Regions from separate parts of the Homo sapiens genome. Here all the other regions are linked to region 2. Evidence: promoter capture Hi-C in human tissues and cell types (Jung and others, 2019). All regions are on one chromosome and are shown on one strand. Each heading gives the region's core, a stretch centred on a gene start or on the middle of the fragment in contact. The rest is flanking DNA. Distances are from core to core; before and after follow the strand shown. Region 1 has its middle 91 kb from the start of LINC00596. Region 2 holds the start of DHRS2 (dehydrogenase/reductase 2). Region 3 has its middle 120 kb from the start of LINC00596.

The links. Contacts are between HindIII fragments. The study calls those that stand out against the background at their distance.
Region 1: a contact is called between a fragment that was not itself captured here and the fragment with the promoter of DHRS2 in region 2, in 2 of the 25 tissues and cell types used here (mesenchymal stem cells and ovary).
Region 3: a contact is called between a fragment that was not itself captured here and the fragment with the promoter of DHRS2 in region 2, in 1 of the 25 tissues and cell types used here (lymphoblastoid cells).

Annotation. Positions count from the first base shown.
Region 1 is chr14:23,810,410-23,813,725 of GRCh38, reverse strand. No RefSeq gene overlaps it. Among named protein-coding and RNA genes, the nearest start is that of LINC00596, 91 kb to the left of the region's middle. The HindIII fragment of the contact is 9,196 bases long and covers 1-3,316 here.
Region 2 is chr14:23,634,643-23,637,972 of GRCh38, reverse strand. DHRS2 (dehydrogenase/reductase 2) reads right to left here and starts at 1,609. Exons shown (of 9, transcript NM_005794.4): 1 at 1,201-1,609. The HindIII fragment of the contact is 10,677 bases long and covers 1-3,330 here.
Region 3 is chr14:23,777,866-23,781,409 of GRCh38, reverse strand. No RefSeq gene overlaps it. Among named protein-coding and RNA genes, the nearest start is that of LINC00596, 120 kb to the left of the region's middle. The HindIII fragment of the contact is 4,786 bases long and covers 1-3,544 here.

The DNA.
Region 1 (3,316 bases), core at 39-2,538, 180 kb before region 2:
CAATGTTGGCTGGGCACGGTGGGTCATGCCTGTAATCCCAGCACTTTGGGAGGCCGAGGCGGGCGGATCATGAGGTCAGGAGTTGGAGACCAGCCTGACCAACATGGTGAAACCCTGTCTCTACTAAAAATACAAAAATTATCTGGGTGTGGTGGCACGCACCTGTAATCCCAGCTACTCAGGAGGCTGCGGCAGGAGAATTACTTGAACCCGGGAGGCAAGATCACACCACTGCACTCCAACCTGGGTGACAGAGACTCTCTCTCAATAATAATAATAATAATAATAATAATAATAATAATAATAATGCTCAATGATGTAAGTACAAGGGATGCATCTAATACCAATGGGAAGAAGCTGTATATGGAGAAAGGTTTCTGCTCCTATTAAAAAGATATTTTCCTTGTGATAGTTTGCTGAGAATGATGGTTTCCAGCTTCATCCATGTCCCTACAAAGGACATGAACTCATGGGGCCTGTTGTGGGGTAGGGGGAGCGGGGAGGGATAGCATTAGGAGATATACCTGATGTTAAATGATGAGTTAATGGGTGCAGCACACCAACATGGCACATGTATACATATGTAACAAACCTGCACATTGTGCACATGTACCCTAGAACTTAAAGTATAATAAAAAAATAAAAAATAAAAAAAAGATGTTTTCAAATCCCCAAAGAGGAAATATAGCCATGGGTAATAGGAATTTCCCATGTCACGAGAGCTTTTCAAGAGAGGATGGAAGGTCTACTTTGCTGTAAGGTTGCAGAGGGAATGAACCTCCGACAGGTTTTAAGTAGATAATCCAAAGACAGTTCCACACCAGAGAGTCTCTGATTCTTTATTGAGGTATCCTGTTTTTAGAGGAATATAAGAATGAACTTGTGGGAAAGGGTCAGAGCAATCTCAAGGATTATATGAGAGTAAGAGCCAGAACGTTGAAGTGATTTGAACTGAATAAAATGAACCAATAATGCTTTTAAGCAGTGTTATGCCCACAGAAAAGTATGAACCTATATATTTATAACCTGCCAAATTTGTGCATACTCTGTATTCCTGAAATAAACTGCTCTTTTCTTAGTTGACTCCTAAATAATATCTCCCAAATGACTCTTTAGGAATAAAACTTCTTTAGAGCAAAATTGTCCAAAATGGAAAGGAAATCTTCAAAAGACTAGAAACATTACTTTTGGCTGGACATGATGGCTCACACCTGTAATCCCAGCACTTTGGGAGGCCAAGGTGGGAGGATCACTTGAGGCCAGGAGTTTCAGACTAGCCCTAGCAGGACAGTGAGACCCTATCTCTACAAAAAATAAAAGTAAAAAATTAGCCAGGTGCCGGGCATGATGGCTCACATCTGTAATCCCAGCACTTTGGGAGGCCGAGGCAGGTGGATCACGAGGTCAGGAGTTCAAGACCAGCCTGGCCAAGGTGGTGAAACCCCATCTCTACTAAAAATACAAAAACAAAACAAAACAAAACAAAACAAACAAACAAAAAAAACAAAAAAAAACCTAGCCAGGCACGGTGGCGGTGCCTGTAGTCCCAGCTACTCAGGACGCTGAGGCAGAAAATTGCTTGAACCCTGGAGGCAGAGGTTGCAGTGAGCTAAGATGGCACCACTGCACTCCAGTGCAGGTGACAGAGTGAGACTCCATCTCAAAAAAAAAAAAAAATAGACAGGCATGATGGCATATGCCTGTAGTCCCAGCTACTCAAGAGGCTGAGGTGTGAGGTTGGCTAGAGCCTGGGAAGTTGAAGTAAGCTGCAGTAAGCTGTAGTTGCACCACTGCACTCCAGCCTGGACAACAGAGCAAGACCCTGCCTCAAAAAGAGAGAGAAAAGAAAAGAAAAAAGAAAAGAGAAACATTGCTCTGGCAAGCATGATGGAACCAAATAACAGTGAACCAAAGTCCCAGTATGTGTACAGGCATACCTCAGAGATACTGTAGGTTCAGTTCCAGACCACTACAATAAAGCAAATATTACAATAAAGCAAGTCACGGGAATTTTTTTGGTTCCTCAGTGCATACAGAAGTTATGTTTACACTCTACTGTATTGTAAGTGGGCGGTACCACCATGTCTAAGAAACAATGTACATACCTGAATTTAAAAATACTTCACTGCTAAAAAATGCTAACAATCAGCTGAGCATTCATCAAGTCACACTCTTTTTGCTGGTACAGGGTCTTGCCTTAATGTTGATGGCAGCTGACTGATCAGGGTGGTAGTTGCTAAATGTTAGGGTAGCTGTGGCAATTTCTTCCACTAAGACAACAGTGAAGTTTGTTGCATTGATTGACTCTTCCTTTCACAAAAGATTCCTCTGTAGCATGTGATGCTGTTTGATAGCATTTTACTCACAATAGAACTTCTTTTAAAATTGGAGTCAATACTCTCAAACCCTACTGTTGCTTAATCAGCTAAGCTTATGTAATATTCTAATTCCTTTGTTGTCATTTCAGCAATGTTCACAGCATCTTCACTAGGAGTAGATTCCATCTCAAGAAACTGCTTTCTTTGCTCATTCATAGAAAGCAACTCCTCATTTGTTCAAGTTTTATCAGGAGATTGCAACAATTCAGACACATCTTCAGACTTCACTTCTAATTCTAGTTCTCTTGCTTTTTCCACCACATCAGCTATTACTTGCTTTCCTTCACTGAAGTCTTTAACCCTTCAAAGTCATCCATGAGGGCTGGGAATCAATGTCTTCCCAACTCCTGTTAATGTTGATATTTTGACTTCCTCCTAAGATCACACATATTCTTAATGACATCCACAATGCTTAATCTTTTTTTTATTATTATACTTTAAGTTTTAGGGTACATGTGCACAACATGCAGGTTTGTTACATATGTATACATGTGCCATATTGGTGTGCTGCACCCATTAACTCGTCATTTAACATTAGGTATATCTCCTAATGCTATCCCTCCCCCCTCATGGATGAAGCTGGAAACCACAGTGGTTAATCTTTTCTCGAAGGTTTTCAATTAACTTTGCCTAAATCTGTTAGAGGCATCACAGTCTGTGGCAGCTATAGCCTTACAAAATATATTAATTAAGTAATAAGCCTTGAAAGTCAGGCCAGGCGTGGTGGCTCACGCCTGTAATCCCAGCACTTTGGAGGCCGAGGCAGGTGGATCACTTGAGGTCAAGAGTTCAAGACCAGCCTGGTCAACATGGTGAAACTCCGTCTCTACTAAAAATACAAAAAATTAGCCAGGTGTGGTGGTGCATGCCTGTGATCCCAGCTACTCGGGAGGCTGAGAGGGGAGAATCTCTTGAACCTGGGAGGCGGAGGTTGCAGT
Region 2 (3,330 bases), core at 360-2,859:
ACTCAAGCAGGTTGCTGCTGCTGGCTCGGGTGGCCTGCTTTTATTCCCTTATCTGGCCCTGTCCACATCCTGCTGATTGGTCCATTTTACAGAGAGCTGATTGGTCTGTTTTATAGAGAGCTGATTGGTCCATTTTGACAGAGTGCTGATTGCTGTGTTTACAAACCTTTAGCTAGACACAGAGTGCTGATTGGTGCATTTACAATCCTTTCGCTAGACACAAAAGTTCTCCAAGTCCCCACCTGATTAGCTAGACATAGAGTGCTGCACCCTTGCTTGTCCTCCTAGACCATGAGGAGGACCGAGAAAAATCGGATTTAGTGGCCCTTACCGACGCATTCTCGAAAACCTGTTAGAGTCCTAAGCATTCTCCTGTTAGTATTGGGAACTTACCCGTGTCCTATAAAGATGTTATGCCCCAAAAATGAAGAAGAGTAACCTGAGGGAGGGAAGGGGTCTCCAGGGTTGGAAAAGTGACACCTTTTGTCCTCACTTATATGAATAGGAAGGATACAATTTCTGAGGCTCCCCCTATCCTAGCTTCAGGAATAGCTTTTGTTAGACCTGCTTATCTGAGGAGGGATTCTAAAATTCCAGATAGTTCCCCCTACAACTGGGCTTTGGGCAAAAATTATGTCTTTCTGATTGGTGAGCCCAGGTGCCTAAAGAAGGTAACAGAGTCCTGAAATTTTTACTAGAAATCATTCTTATAAGAGAAATTAGAAAAGCACCAGAGACAGGGAGTGGTTTTTTAGAAGTGGGACTAGCCTAGGAGAAGAGAGGAGAGAGAAAGTTTGTCTGGCAGGCATTAGGACCCAGCGAGCAAGGGTCAGGATAGATAGGATAGATAGGTGAGTCTCACTTGGGCAACATGCCTTTGAGAGTTCCGCTCATGGCCGCAGGGTCAACCAACTTGTTGTGGGGACTCCGGAGCTGAATGGCTTTCCTCTCTGTTGACCCTCAGCTCAGCCCAGAAGTACAGGAAAAGCGGAAGCTGGTTCCAGGCAAAACAACATTCCCAACTCCACAGAGCCAGGGGTTGTTAGAGATCCCTTTCCCAGAAAGCCTGACACCCACGTTTTTAGTCCAGCGGCTGCGCTAGTCACTTTTAACTGGCCGACAGGTGCCCAGAATTTAGCCACCGAATTCTAAGGAAAAATAGGACAGAATAGCAAATGAAAGGGATCTGATGGTACTCACCACTTGGCGATAGGTGATAGTCTCACCGCTTGGTGATGGTCTCACCACTTGGCAATAGTCTCACTGCTTGGCAATAGTCTCACCACTTGGTGATAGGTGACAGTCTCTTCAAAGTCACCAAAATGTGTACGGAATTGATGGGTTCTTGGCCTCACTGACTTCAAGAATGAAGTTGCAGACCCTTGCGGTGAGTATTACGGTTCTTAAAGATGGTGTGTCCAGAGTTGTTCATTCCTCTCGGTGCATTCGTGGTCTTGCTGGCCCCAGGAGTGAAGTTGCAGACCTTCGCGGTGAGTGTTACAGCTCTTAAAGGTGGCACGGACCCAACGAGTGAGCAGCAGCAAGATTTATCATGAAGACCAAAAGAACAAAGCTTCCACAGCGTGGAAGGGAACCAGAGCAGGTTGCTGCTGCCGGCTCAGGCAGCCTGCTTTTATTCCCTTAACTGGCCACACCCACATCCTGCTGATTGGTCCATTTTATGGAGAGCTGATTGGTCCATTTTACAGAGAGCTGATTGGTCTGTTTTACAGAGAGCTGATTGGTCCGTTTTGACAGAGTGCTGATTGGTGCATTTACAAACCTTTAGCTAGACACAGAGTGCTGATTGGTGCATTTACAATCCTTTAGCTAGACACAAAAGTTCTCCAAGTCCCCACCAGATTGGCTAGACACAGATTGCTGATTGGTGCATTTACAAACCTTTAGCTAGACACAGAGTGCTGATGGGTGCATTTACAAACCTTTAGCTAGACAGAAAAGTTCTCCAGGTCCCCACCGGACCCAGAAGCCCAGCCGGCTTCACCTCTCAATGGCACACACTGCAGGACTTTGCGGCACCTAGCCCAGGCACTCCAGCAGCCCAGAGGGAGCTCATCCCCCAGTCAGGCCCAGCTGGCACCGGCCGGCCCACGGAGCCCCTGCTGGCCGGTGAGTGCCCTGTACAGTGTGGGCTCCTGCCGGCGCCTCTCCCTCCACACCTCCTGGCGAGCAGAGGGAGCTGGCTTCGGCCTTGGCCAGCCCCAGAGAGGGGCCCCCACAGTGCAGTGGTGGGCTGAAGGGCTCCTCAAGTGCAGCCAGAGTGGATGTGGAGGACGAGGAGGCACCAAGAGTGAGCAAGGGCTGCTAGCATATTGTCACCTCTCACTTCTAGTTGAAAAAGCAAAATCAACAGAAACTCTCATTCACTGCTGGGTAGAGGGTAAGTACAATCACTTTGGGAAATGATTTGGCATTATACGGAGAAGTTGAAAATAAAGATCTCTGACTCTGTAGAGGGAACTTGCATCCTGCAGACAGGAGGTCATGTGTGCACCAAGAGACTGTACACACAGGTTCAGAGAAGCCTGCTTAGAATGTTCCAAACTGGAAACAAGTCTGTATTAGTTTGTTTTCACACTGCTATAAAGAACTAACTGAGGCCAGGCACGGTAGCTCACACCTGTAATCCCAGTACTTTGGAAGGCCAAGGTGGGCAGATCCCTTGAGCTCAGGAGTTTGAGACCAGCCTGGGCAACAAGGTGAAACCATGTCTCTATAAAAATTAGCTGGGTGTGGTGGTGCATGCCTGTAGTCACAGCTACTCGGGAGACTAAGATGGGACGATTGCTTGAGCCCAGGAGGTCAAGGCTGTGGTAGGCTGAGATTGCACCACCGTACTCCAGCCTGGGAGAGAGAGCAAGACCCTGTCTCAAAAAAAAAAAGAACTACCTGAGACTGGGTAATTTATAAAGAAAAGAGGTTTAATTGACTCACAATTCCACAGGCTGTACAGGAAGCATGGCTGGGAAGGCCTCAGGAAACTTACAATTAAGGCAGAAGGTGAAATGAAGCAGGCAGAACTTACACAGCTGGAGCAGGAGGAAGTGAGAGCAAAGGGGGAGGTGCTACACACTTCCAAACAACCAGATCTCATGAGAACTCACTCACTATCACAAGAGCAGCAAGGGGGAAATCTGCCCCCATGATCCAATCACCTTCCACTAGGCCCCCTCCTCCAACATTGGGGATTACAATTCGACATGAGATTTGGGCAGGGACACAGACCTAAACCATATCAAAGTCTATATGCCTATTAACGGTGGAATGGATAAACAAACTGTGTTGCATTTCTATAATGGAATACTATAC
Region 3 (3,544 bases), core at 515-3,014, 140 kb before region 2:
CCTCCTATTCTCTGGGGACTCCAATAAAATGTAGATTGTGTTACTTGAAGTTGTCCCACAGCTCACTGATGGTTTGTCCATTTCTTAAATTTTTTTGTGTGTGTTCCGTTTGCATAATTTCTATTGCTACATCTTCAAATTAACTATTTTCTTTCTACTGCAGTGTTTAACCTGTTGTGAATCCCATTCAGTGTATTTTTTATCTTATGCACTGCAGTTTTCATTTCTAGTACCTCAATTTGGATTTAAAAAAAAATCTTTCATGTCTCTACATAACTTTTGAGCATATGCAATACAGCTGTAACACCTGTTTTAATGTTCTTTTCTGCTAATTCAAACATCTCAGTTCTGTGTTCATTTTGCTTGATTTATTTTTATCCTTATTATGATTGTATTTTCCTGCTCCTTTGTATGCCTTACATTTTTTAATTGGAAGCCAGAAGTTGTGAATTGTATCTTGTTAGATGCTGGATATTTTAGTATTCCTATTAATATTTTTTATTTCTGTTCTGGGGTGCAGTTAAGTTACTAGGGAACAGTTTGATCCTTGCCTAAAGTCTATTAAATGGGTTCAGAGCAGGGCTCATTCTAGAGATAATTATTCTCCACTCCTAAGGGAAGACTACTCTGAGCACTAAGCCCAGTGCTTTATGAATTATGAGGTTTTTCAGTCTGGCTTGTGGGAAGAGGCACTATTCCTGGCCCTGTGGGAGCACCCTGCCACCTTTCTTATGGTTCTTTCCTTGGCCTTGGTTGGTTTCCTCACATATGTGTGCTGATCAGTACTCTTCTGACTACTCGAGAGGAACCTTCTGTAAACCTGTGAACATCTCCCTGCAGCTCCTTCCTCTCCAGTCCTCTGTCCTGCAAATTCTAGCTGCTCCAGTCTCCCCAGACTCTTAGGTCTGCTTCCCTAACTGGAGGAGACCTCAATCATCACAGTTTGTAATTAATAAATGAGTGTGAGCACTTGACTCATGTCTGACCCTTACTTTACAACCAGACTGTAAGCTTCTTGAGAGCAGACGACTTAGTCTGTTTTGCTCATCATTGTGTCTCTAGTGCCTTGCACACTATCTGGCTGATAGTGGGTCCTCAATAAATACACAGTGAATAAAATAATTAAGATTAAACCCAAGCATACCACATAGAAATACTAAGTTCACAAATGGGCATTAATACATAATGTTTTTTAATCATCTCTCTTTTTTCTCTTTTATGTTTACTGAAATTAAAATAAATGGATCAGAACTACATGTATCTACAGAATAAACCTCACATAATGTTGAACAAAGATAGCAAGTTGCCCAAGAATATGTTCAATGTGCTATCATACATAAAGTTTAAATATATGGAAAATACTATATATAGTTAAGGGATACATATATGTAACAAGGTATGAAGACTGGCATAGGAATAACCTCTACCAAATTTAGGTTAAGGGTTTCATCTTTAGAGAAAGAAAGGGGAGAAGCTGGAAAGGTAGAATAGAGGGAATCAATTCTATATGTAATGTTTAATTTTTTAAGCTGGGATGTGGTACCTGGCTGTTCGTTATGTCACTTTCTGTACTTTATGTTTAAACCATTTCATAATATAAAGAAAGCTACTTGCAGATTTGAAAGAATTACAGATTATACATGCTGATATGGACAAACTACATGCAATGAGGCTCTAATAAAATAAAACCAGAGTTAGAACAAAGAAAGAAAAAAGAGAAGAAATTGGCCAGTAAAAAACCTTAAGTGACATACACAAATGAAAATTATCTAATTGTGAGAAAACATCAAACAAATCACAACTGAGGACATTTGACAAAATACCCGACAAGTTCTTCTGGAAAATATCAATGTCATCAAAACCAAGGAAAGTCTGAGAAACTGTCACAGCCAGGAGGAGTCTAAGGAGATATAATGTGGTATCGTGGATGGAATTCTGGAGCAGAAAAAGACATTAGATTAAAGCTAAGAAAATCTGATTAGCCAAAGTATGGGCTTCAGTTAATAACAATGTATCAGTGTTGGTTGATCAATTGTGACAAAGTTACCATACTAGTGTAAGGTGTTAACAATAGGTGAAACTCAGGGTGAGGTATATGAAAATTCACCGTACTCACTCTGCAACTTTTCTGTAAATGTAAATCTAATCTGATAGTTTTTTAAAGTAAAAAATACAAAACAATAGAGCAACATCTGGCATGCTTGTGTCCTGCTGTGTTGCAGTAGCCAGTGCATAACATCAACTGTGTCATGTTCTTGACAAACAATTTAACCTGAATGTAATTATTAATAAACCATCAAAGAAATAAAAACTAGGGGTCATTCTGCTAAAACCTGGCCTGTCCTCTTAAAAAAAAAAAAAAAAAAAAAAAGGCTGGATGCGATGGCTCATGCCTGTAATCCCAGTAATTTGAGAGGCAGAGATGGGAGAATTGCTTGAGCTCAGGAGTTTGAGACCAGCCTGGGCAACATAGCAAGAACCCATTTCTACAAAAAAAAAAAAAAAAAAAAAAATTAAAAATGAGTCAGGGAGAACTAGCTACTAAGGGGTTGAGGGGAAAGGATCATTTGAGCTCAGGAGTTTGAGGCTGTAGTGAGTGCACTCTAGCCTGGGCAACAACAACAACAACAGCATATGTCTTAAAATGTTTATTTAAAAAAATAAGAAAAAATTTTAAAAGAATAAAAAAACGAATGACCATTTTAGATTTCTGAAGACTGGTGATGCACAGCAATCAACTGTGATGTGTCAAACTTGACTGGATCCTGAATTGAAAAATAACAGCTACCAAAAGCCATTTGAGTGCTCATTTGAGAAAACTGCATTTGGAATGTTTAGCAGATTCTTGCAATTCAAAGTGTGGTCCGCAGACCAACAGCATCACCATAACCTTGGAGCTTGTTAGAAAGGTAGAACATCAGCCCTCATCACAGACCTACTGAATCAGAATCTGCATTTTGACAAGATCCTCAGGTGACTTGCATGCTTAATAAAGTCTGACAAGCACCATTTTCTGTGGTATTATACAATTGTTAATTGTCTCAAGTGTGAAACTGTGTCAAAATGCCTTAATTCTTAGAAAATGCATGTTGATGTGGTTAGGGGTAAAGTGCAATGGATGTCTGCAACTGACATTCAAATAGCACAGAAAACAAAAGTGTATGAGATGAAGTAAAAGTAGCAGGATGTTAACAGTTGATATTAGGTTAGTGCAACTAATGGCAAAATTGCAATTTCTTTTGCACCAACCAAATAAATTGCAGTGAGGGCTATACAAGTGCTTATTGCACTATTTTTCATCTTTTATGTAGATTTTAAATTTCCATAATTTCAAATGTAGAAGATTTTTATGGACTGTCTTTAAATTTAAAAATCTATTTTGAGGAAAGTTGACATGTTGACAACATTGAGTTTTCTCATCAATGAATATGGTATATCACTCTCCATAATCAAGTTTTCTTCTTTGTCCTTCAGCAATGTTGAACACTTTTCTTTACAGATTTTATACATTTATTTTCAATTTACATTTACTCCTGAACATTTT